Regions from separate parts of the Homo sapiens genome. Here region 1 is linked to region 2. Evidence: promoter capture Hi-C in 16 types of primary human blood cells and fetal thymus (Javierre and others, 2016). All regions are on one chromosome and are shown on one strand. Each heading gives the region's core, a stretch centred on a gene start or on the middle of the fragment in contact. The rest is flanking DNA. Distances are from core to core; before and after follow the strand shown. Region 1 overlaps CCNF (cyclin F). Region 2 holds the start of CASKIN1 (CASK interacting protein 1).

What was found. The method cuts DNA at HindIII sites, captures the fragments that hold promoters and counts their contacts. A CHiCAGO score of 5 or more calls a contact.
Region 1: a contact is called between a fragment that was not itself captured here and the fragment with the promoter of CASKIN1 in region 2, in 1 of 17 cell types (fetal thymus). The highest score is 5.9, in fetal thymus.

The regions. Positions count from the first base shown.
Region 1 is chr16:2,455,979-2,459,922 of GRCh38, reverse strand. CCNF (cyclin F) reads right to left here. Exons shown (of 17, transcript NM_001761.3): 17 at 1,069-3,378. The coding sequence ends at 2,903. LOC105371050 (a long non-coding RNA gene) reads left to right here. Exons shown (of 5, transcript NR_188689.1): 1 at 1-9; 2 at 87-210; 3 at 969-1,113; 4 at 2,957-3,089; 5 at 3,338-3,857. Among named protein-coding and RNA genes, the nearest start is that of TEDC2, 2.2 kb to the left of the region's middle. RefSeq lists enhancers at 206-295, 526-1,340. The HindIII fragment of the contact is 2,703 bases long and covers 1-2,609 here.
Region 2 is chr16:2,194,276-2,198,672 of GRCh38, reverse strand. CASKIN1 (CASK interacting protein 1) reads left to right here and starts at 2,068. Exons shown (of 20, transcript NM_020764.4): 1 at 2,068-2,334. The coding sequence starts at 2,241. The HindIII fragment of the contact is 37,961 bases long and covers 1-4,397 here.

The DNA.
Region 1 (3,944 bases), core at 9-2,508, 260 kb before region 2:
GCCAGGGAGGTGACTGCGGGCGACGCCGGGATTTTGGTTTGGGTAACTGGGTAGATGGGGGCGCCATTATCGCGCTTCTCTTGCAGGGGGCCGGTGAAGGTTATACGAGAGGCTCCATCTGTCCTTATTGAAAGTGCTCTTAACGCAGGGACCAGCCGTCTTGCTGACGCCTGGGCCACCGAGCACAGGGACAGGACGGGGTTGCTGGAGGTGAGGATTCCGCGTGTCAGGGGCGGGGATGAAGGAGGAGAAAGTGTTCACTTTTGGACATGTGACGTGATAGCACTGGGCAGAGGGGAGGAAGCTCAGACCTTGGAGCAGTGGGCCAGGCGAGGTGGCCCCTGGTGGGGCAGGGGACGGGTAGGGACAGATCACGGGGCCCACGCAATGGCCAGGGAGGTGGAGGAGCAGTAGGACAGTGTCACAGAGGCAACAGGAGGCTGTCACGGGAGGGAGTGGGTCACAGGCCAAGTGCTGCTGAGGCCTCGGCGGTGTACACAGCACAGCAGGGGGGCGGGGGTACAGGGCCTTCGGTGATGCGGGGGACACCTGAGGGAGGAAGTGAGGAAGGCAGCAGGGCCCCATGTAGTTGGTGTTAACAAGAATAAACAATTAGGGGGCAAGAAATCCCAGGCGGTAGCTGAAAGAAAAACAGAGCCTGGGGTTGCTGTTTAAAGATGGGACAGGTGAGTCCATTCCATAGTCGTTAATGGGAAGGTGCCATCGCAGAGGGGAAGGAGGGCACAAAGGGAGTTGTCAGGGAGGTTGGGACCCAGGCAGCTCTGGCCCAGCGCTCCGGGTGGGCCCCTCCATCAGCGGTGGGGGAGGGTGACGGTGGCCCTGCCTCCCTGGAGATTCTCTGTGAAGGAGGAGGCAGGGAAATGCTCAGTCAGCAGGTGGGTGATGCAGGAACCCACCCACCACAGGCAGGCGGGGCCAGGTCCCCCTGGAGTGGTTTCCTCCTTCAGGTGCAAGCTGGGAGAAAGCAGAGAACTGACTCCATGCAGAGTTGGGATTAAGAGCCCCTGGACAAGGGGCCGAGGCAGTGAAGGACGTCCATCACTCATCTGCCACTATCCTCCTCACATTTAATCCTCACAACACCCCTGTGAGGTAGGTATCATTGCCCCCCTTACAGATGAGGAAACTGAGGCTCACACATGCCCAGGGGCACACAGTCGACAGGACGGGTCTACAGTTCCAACGCTTGGGTTCTCACCCCGACCACACCCCACCCAGGGTGGCCAGAATTCCCTTATAGTAGCAAAAAGACAGCTGCCGCGGACATGAACACACATAGCACCAGCACACATAAAAGCAGCAGCTCAGTGAGCATCTCCCATCCCTGGGTTTCCGGTTCAAGAGCATTTGGGGGCCAGGCGCCGTGGCTCATGCCTGTAATCCCAGCACTTTGGGAGACCGAAGTGGGCGGATCACTTGAGGTCATGAGTTCGAGACTAGCCTGGCCAACATGGTGAAATCCCGTCTCTACCGAAAATACAAAAATTAGCTGGGCGTGGTTGGGTGCTTGTAATCCCAGCTACCCAGGAGGCTGAGGCAGGAGTATCCGGGAGGCGGAGGTTACAGTGAGTTGAGAGTTGAGATCATGCCACTGCACTCCAGCCGGGGAGACAAGAGCAAAACTGTCTCCAAAAAAAAAAAAAAAAAAGCATCTGGGGGACACTTCTGGCCAAGTGGTTCTTTCTTACATTTGCAGAGTAAACAGAAGTGGATGGCAGCAGGGTGTGTTGTGGTCAGCCCGTTCCCAGGGAGAGGCCATGGTCACATGGCCCCAGGCAGGCTCCCCAGGCGTGGGCTGCTGGCTCCCAGGCTCCCTTTCCATGCAGGAGCAGAGTCTCCGTGGCCAGCAGGAAAGCCCAGGGGTCTGCCTCCCTCCCACGGGCCCCCACAGCAGAGCTGCAGTTGGGATCAGCCAGGACACGGCCCCCGACTGCTCTGCTCTTCTGCCTCTTGGTCACCTCAGATGTTACAGAGGACTTGAAGTTTTTTCTGGCTAGCCTATCTGGGAAAATTCTTTTTGCATAAAGTGTGTCAGGATGGCATTGAGGGGCTGGAGTAAGATTTTTGTTTTGCAGGTGAACCTAAATAATGGTGGGAATCTCTTGTTTTTTTAATACCTTCTGTTTTAAGTTTTTCTTTTGTTTTCATCTTGGAAGAAGGAAATTTAGAAATAAGACAGGAAAAGAATGGCCCAGAAATTCAGCACAAAGAGAGGTGTTCACATTGACGCCATCTGTGGGTCACATACGAACGCCTCTGGGACAGAGCTCTAAAACGAGTCACGTGTCGTAGGGAGTGGGCCTGTGGCCAAGGCAGTCCTCGCAGTGTGCAGGGACGCAGGCCCCCTTACCATGGAAGCCCCACCCAGAAGGAAGTGGGTGCCCCATGCAGGCCGAGGTGGATGAGGGGACAGTGGTGTGCTCACAGCTGTCAGCTCCCCACTGAAGCCCCAAACCAGCAGATGTGGGCAGGGGCTCAAGTGGTGTCTGACTACCCAGGTCACACGTGCCTTAAGCGTGAAAGCTGTCAGCTCCCGGCACGGGGCTCTGGTGGGGCTGGGAACACCAGGACACACATGGGCTGAAGCTTCCAGAGACAGTGAGACACGGAAGGGACAGAGAGGTGCCCTCCACACAGTGTGGCCAACTGCTTCCAGGCTAAACTTTCCAAAGAGAGGGATCTGAGCTCTTCACCCTCATTTCAACATTCTGATGGCTTGCACGGGACTCCCGCGGAGACAGAAACTTGGTGGCCGCAAGTCATCCTCTCTGCTCTCTGCGCAAAGGCCTCCATGGTCTATGCAGCGTTCCTATGCTATGCTCCCACCCTTCGCCTCCAGCCCCCTCAGTACACATCCACTGCGGCAAATGTGCTGACACACTTACAGCCTCACAAGGCCCAGGTTCATGTCCTCCTCCTCACTGTGTATGCATAGGTTTATCCGCTTCACCTGTTGCTGGGGAACACTGCTCTCCGGGGGACTTGGGGGACGACACTGTAAACATGACTTCCTGGCCTGATGGTGGCAGGGCTGTGTGTGCGAGTCACTGTCCAGGGACAGCACTGAGGTAGGTTGGGGCAGGGCCCCCAAGCCACCGTCCACGGAGCTTGTGGGACTTGCGGTGCTGACGGAGGAGTACCCTGAGGTCGTGACGTCCTTCCCTGGCTCCCGGCTGGTGCGGACCAGGGGTTTGGGTCCAGGGGTTGCAGGGATCTGGGTGTCCAGCGCCAGTGCCTGTGGGTCCTGGGGTCCCTTGTCCTCTGGACAAGCCTCCTCATCACTGGATTCCTGGCAGCAATGCTGTTCTGGGTTCAGGTAGACCACGGTGACATCGAGGATGCCGCTGGGAGCTGTCACTGCAGGAAGGTTGGTGGGGAGGGAAGTCATGTCACACCCAAGCATCAGGGGAGACCCCCTGCCAGGTCAGGACCCTGAAGTCCAGGTCAAGAATCTTCTACCTTGCTACGGTCCCCTGTGTTACCCTCCTGTGGTGAGAAGCGTGGGTGACATGCCTCTTCCAAGTTGGACAGCTGCCCGCCATGACTCCAACAAATGTGGAGATGACAAGTTGGCCATCTAGCTCAAGCCAAGTGGACGCAGAAGCAAGCAACCGGGAAACTGACAGGACTCACACTAACTGGGCTTCTGGCAAGGACCCCGCAGTCTGCCTGGGGTTTGCACAGGGCAGTGATCCCAGCAGGGCAGTGAGGAGTGTCACGTATACCACGTGGGCACACCTCAAACAACATTCTAGAAAGAACGCCCAGGCTACAGTGCAGTGGCATGATCACGGCTCACTGCAGCTCCCACCTCCTGTGCTCAAGAGATCCTCCCACCTCAGCCTCCTGAGTAGCTGGGACCACAGGCGCACGCCACGATGCCCAGCTAATTTTTAAATTTTTTGTCTTGCTGTGTCACCCAG
Region 2 (4,397 bases), core at 819-3,318:
ACATGTCCAAAACATAAAAGTAATAGTAATGCCAGCAGCTATCTTATTTTTATTTTTAGTTCTTCCTATGTGCTCTTCACACTGCAAGGTAGCGTAGATACAAAGATGCACAAAACACAGTTGCTGCACAGGCAGAGAGGCCCAAGAATATCACAATATCTACAGCAGCCATTTTTTTGAGCACTTACTAAGTCCTGCCGTGAAATGCTTTGTGGATAGTATCACAATTTATCCTCCAGTAACCTAAGGGGAGGTAGCATGCATATCCTCATTTTACAGAGGGGCACAGACACTTAGGCAGTGGGCTGGGTGTGGTAGCTCACGTCTGCAATCCCAGCACTTTGGGAGGTTGAGGTGGGAGGACTGCTTGAGGCCAGGAGTTCGAGACCAGTCTAGGTAACATACTGAGACCTCATCTCTATTAAAAATCAAAAAAAATTAGCCGGGCGCTACTCAGGAGGCTGAGGCGGGAGGACTGCTTGAGCCTGGGATGTTGAGGCTGCAGTGAGCTATGATGGCGTCACTGCACCCCAGCCTGGACGACAGAGCGAGACCCTGTCTCAGAAAAAAGAATGACAAAGTGACCAGCTCATGGTCACAAACCACTAAGAGGGGGAATAGGACACATCCAGAGGTGCGGGTGCAAAGCCCAGACTTACAACCTCAAGACTCTGGGACCCCAGGTGAGCCCCTTGGCTTCTCTGAGCCTCAGTTTCTTCATCTGTAAAATGGGGACAGTGAGTCCAACCTCATCTAGGAGGTGACCAGCACAGTGCCTGACCCAGCGGGTACTCAACTGGTCATTGGAAAGGGCAAGAGGAAAGGCCCTAGCATTTGGGGACCCCTCCCAGGAGTGCTGGAAGACCAAGGGCTGCTACCTGAACCTAACAGGAGACCCCACGGAGGGAACGGGAACGGCCAGCTGCCCACAGGATGCCGGGACCCCGGTGCCTGTCACCTTCCCTGTCCCTGCTGTCTGACCTCCTCTGTCCCCCTGGACCTGCTCAATGGTCTGGGGCCACACAGAGTGGGGTGCCAGGCCATGCCTCATAGAATGGGTGCGACCCTCCCCAAATTCTCCAAACGGCCTTGCCCGCTTGGGTGATGAGGGAAACGGAGCCTGAGTCGGGACTCAGACCCCCACTGATCTGCCTCTAGAATGCTGCAGGCCTGACGGGAGAGGGCCTGAGGCGCAGGGTGGCCCAAGCCTTCAGCCAGGAGCTCAGAGGGTCACAAGTCGGGGCCTCCAGCACCCAGGAAGCAGGACTCGCCTGCCTGGGCTGCAGGCTGGAGAGTGGGCAGACGTGGGCCGGGGGTCGGTTGGTGCCGGCGGGAGGTTCCAGCCCCTGTGGATGGAGATGGAGGCGACCCCCAGTCGGTGCGGGGAGTGGGGAGTTGAGCTCCCTCAGTGGGGGTGGTGGGGGCTACCTTGGGGTCAGGCTTCGGACTGAGGCTGGGGGAAGCTGTGGCGCCCGCATTATTTGCGGAGAGGAGCAGGAGGATGCTTGGGGGTTGGGGGTGCGGGTTCCCTGACACCGAATTCATTATTGGGAGATTCCTCTTCACAATCCCTCGACACCTCCCACGGGAACCCTGGGCCAGGAACGCCTGACAGCCTGGCGGGCCGGCTCCAGGGGCACTGGCGCCCGGGTCTCTCGGCGCCCGGTCCCCGCCCGCCCGCTGCCTCGGAACCGTCCCCCGCGGGTCCCGCAGCCTCTGGAAGCCTCTCTGGGCTCAGCCCCGCGCCGCCGCCGCGTCGGGGCTCCCAGTGCACCCCCGGCGGCCGCGTCCCCAGCCCGGCTAGCAGCCCCAGGCCGCCCGCGTCCGCAGAGGCCTGGCCTGAGCGCGCTGCGCGCACGTGGGGAGGGGGCGTCCCGGGGCGGGCGCGGGGAGGGCGGAGCCACGGGCCCGGGCGCGCGGCCGGCGCGGGCTGACGGAGGTCGGCGGCCCGGGAGCGGACCCCGGCGTCCGGGAGGCGGCGCCAGGTGCCGCGCCCCCGCCCCGCGCCCGCCGCGCGCCCCCGCCCCCGGGCCGCCCCCCGCCCGTGACGCGCTCCCCGCCCCCTCCGCGCCGGGAGCCCGAGCCCAAGCCGGAGCCCGAGGAGGGCGAAGGGGCGGCGGGCGGCGAGGAGGCGGCGGGGGAGGCGGCGGGGGAGGCGGCCGGTGCCGCGGGGCCGCCGCCGCCTCTGAGCCGCGCCGAGCTCACGAGCGCAGCCGCGTCGCTGCGGCCCCGGCCGCGCCATGGGGAAGGAGCAGGAGCTGGTGCAGGCGGTGAAGGCGGAGGACGTAGGGACCGCGCAGAGGCTGCTGCAGAGGCCGCGGCCCGGGAAGGCCAGTGAGTGCCGGGGGCGCGGGGCGCGGGTGGGAGCCCCGGGGGCCCCTCCCCGGCGCGGAGCCCCCCACCCGGCGCCGGGCGGGGAGGGGACGTTGTCGGGTCCCCGGGGGCGGGGCGGGGCCAGCAGCGCCCAGACCCTTGGTCCGTGCCCTCCACCCGCTGCCCCCAGCACTGGAGATGGGGCGGCCCCGAGAGCCGGCCGCCACCGTGAGCCCCGCAGCGGGCACCTGGCGGCACCCGCCTCCCGGGCCGCGGGCGTTCGCATCCCTCTCTCTCTACCTCTGTCCCCCTCCCTTCCCAGGCTGCGGGCTGACAGCTGGAGGTCTCTGCTGGGGCCTTCAAAGGGCGAGGCGGATGCCCCCCCCACCCACCACACGCACCGGGAAGACAGGGAGGGGGCCCCTGCGGCGAGGGGCGACCCGGGAGGTGACAGTCCCTAGCAGACCCCCTCCCGCCCCACGTTTAATAACACGCTTTGCAGGGAAGGTGGGGGCAGGACCACGCTGGGGGTGTGGCTGCCCTGGCATGGCCGGTGGGGTGCCATTTACTGATGGGAGAGCAGAGGCCCAAGGTCGCCCAGCCCAGGGCAGGCTGGACTCCAGGCAGGGCCGGCCTGGGCGCAAGGGCTTGGGGCCCTGCTCAGGCAGGCTCCAGCAGAGCCGGGTCTCCAGCTTCCCTGCTGGGAAAGGAGGCCATGAGGGAGTGGGGGACCACCACTGGCCATCCCCAGCTTGCCCTATGGCCGGCCCCAGGAAAGGGCTGGGAGCTTGGAGCCCTGGTCCCAGCACTCATCCTGGCTCAGCGCGTAGCCTCCCTGGGGGCCGCCGGAGATGGATGGATGGGCGTGTGGACCAGCCGCGTGTGCGGCTGCGCACGTATAGCCGTGTCAGTGTGTCAGGGCACCTGTGCGGGCACGGACAGGGCTCTGCAGGTCGGCACGTGGGGTCTGGGCGTCCTCCCTCCTCCCTCCACCCCCACAGACTGTAAGCCAGAGAGTCCCCCTCCCCTTCCTCCAGGGGGATGCCGAGAACTGGGACTGGCTTCTGGGAGATTGTTGGGGGCACCTAGGAGTCCCAGGAGGACCCCCTCCCCCGTACTTCACCAGCAGCCCATGACTGGCTAGCTCCTGTCCACTCTGTGCAGTAAGAGAGAGGGGGCACCGGTGCCTTGCAGGCTGGCCCCGAGCTGATTTCAGGTCCGGGGGCTCAGAAAGGGAGAGCTTGTGGGCAGAGGCAGCCTCAGCTGAGCCTGGAGAGCAGGTGTAGGGATTGAGGGAAGGCAAGGTAAAGGTTTCCACCTAGTGGCCGCATGACCTTGGACACAGACAACTCCAGCTCAGTGGACCTCAGTCTCCTCGTCTGTAGGATGGGATGTCAGCCTCACGGTGGGGTCCTAAGACCAGTGAGCCTGGGCACTTGCAGCCCAGGCATTCAGTAAGTGCTCAGTAAATGCCAGCAATGACCGCAGTCTTGGACGGCCCAGGGCCAGGGGCTGGGGAAGTGGGGGCTTCAGCTCTGGGGAGGTTCCTCCTCCCTTCTATTGTGGCCATTCTGGGGAGGTGTGGGGGCTTCCACTCTCACCTGGGTCTCTGCCTGTCTTGCCTGGCCTCTGGGACAGGAGAGACACCTGCCCTGGCCCCGGCTCCTGCTCTCTGACTCACAGGGGCGGGTGTAATAAATCAGAGGAGAAATCCCTCCATGAATTAGCTCCGTCGTCATGGCAACGCTGGCCTGCTTTGGAGTAAGATGTATTTTGATTCAGTAAAGTACAGCTGAGTTTGGGCCACGAGGTGGGGGGTGTCCAGCAGTATCCTCCAGGGCCCCGTGAGCCCAGGGCTGTCCCCATGAGCTTTGCTTCCATGGTCCCCTCTGGTTGCCCAGTCCCTTCCCTCCAGCCCCTGCTCCAGAGTCACCCCAGGCTCAGCCAGCCCCCGACTCGCCCTGCCCTGAAGGGAGCCTCCCGTGCCCGCACGCACACACTTAGCAGCTGTCCTTGAGGGGAAGAGGAGCCTGTTCTGGGGGAGATGCCGGTGCAGGGGCTGGCCTCCTGCTGGCCAGGAGGGA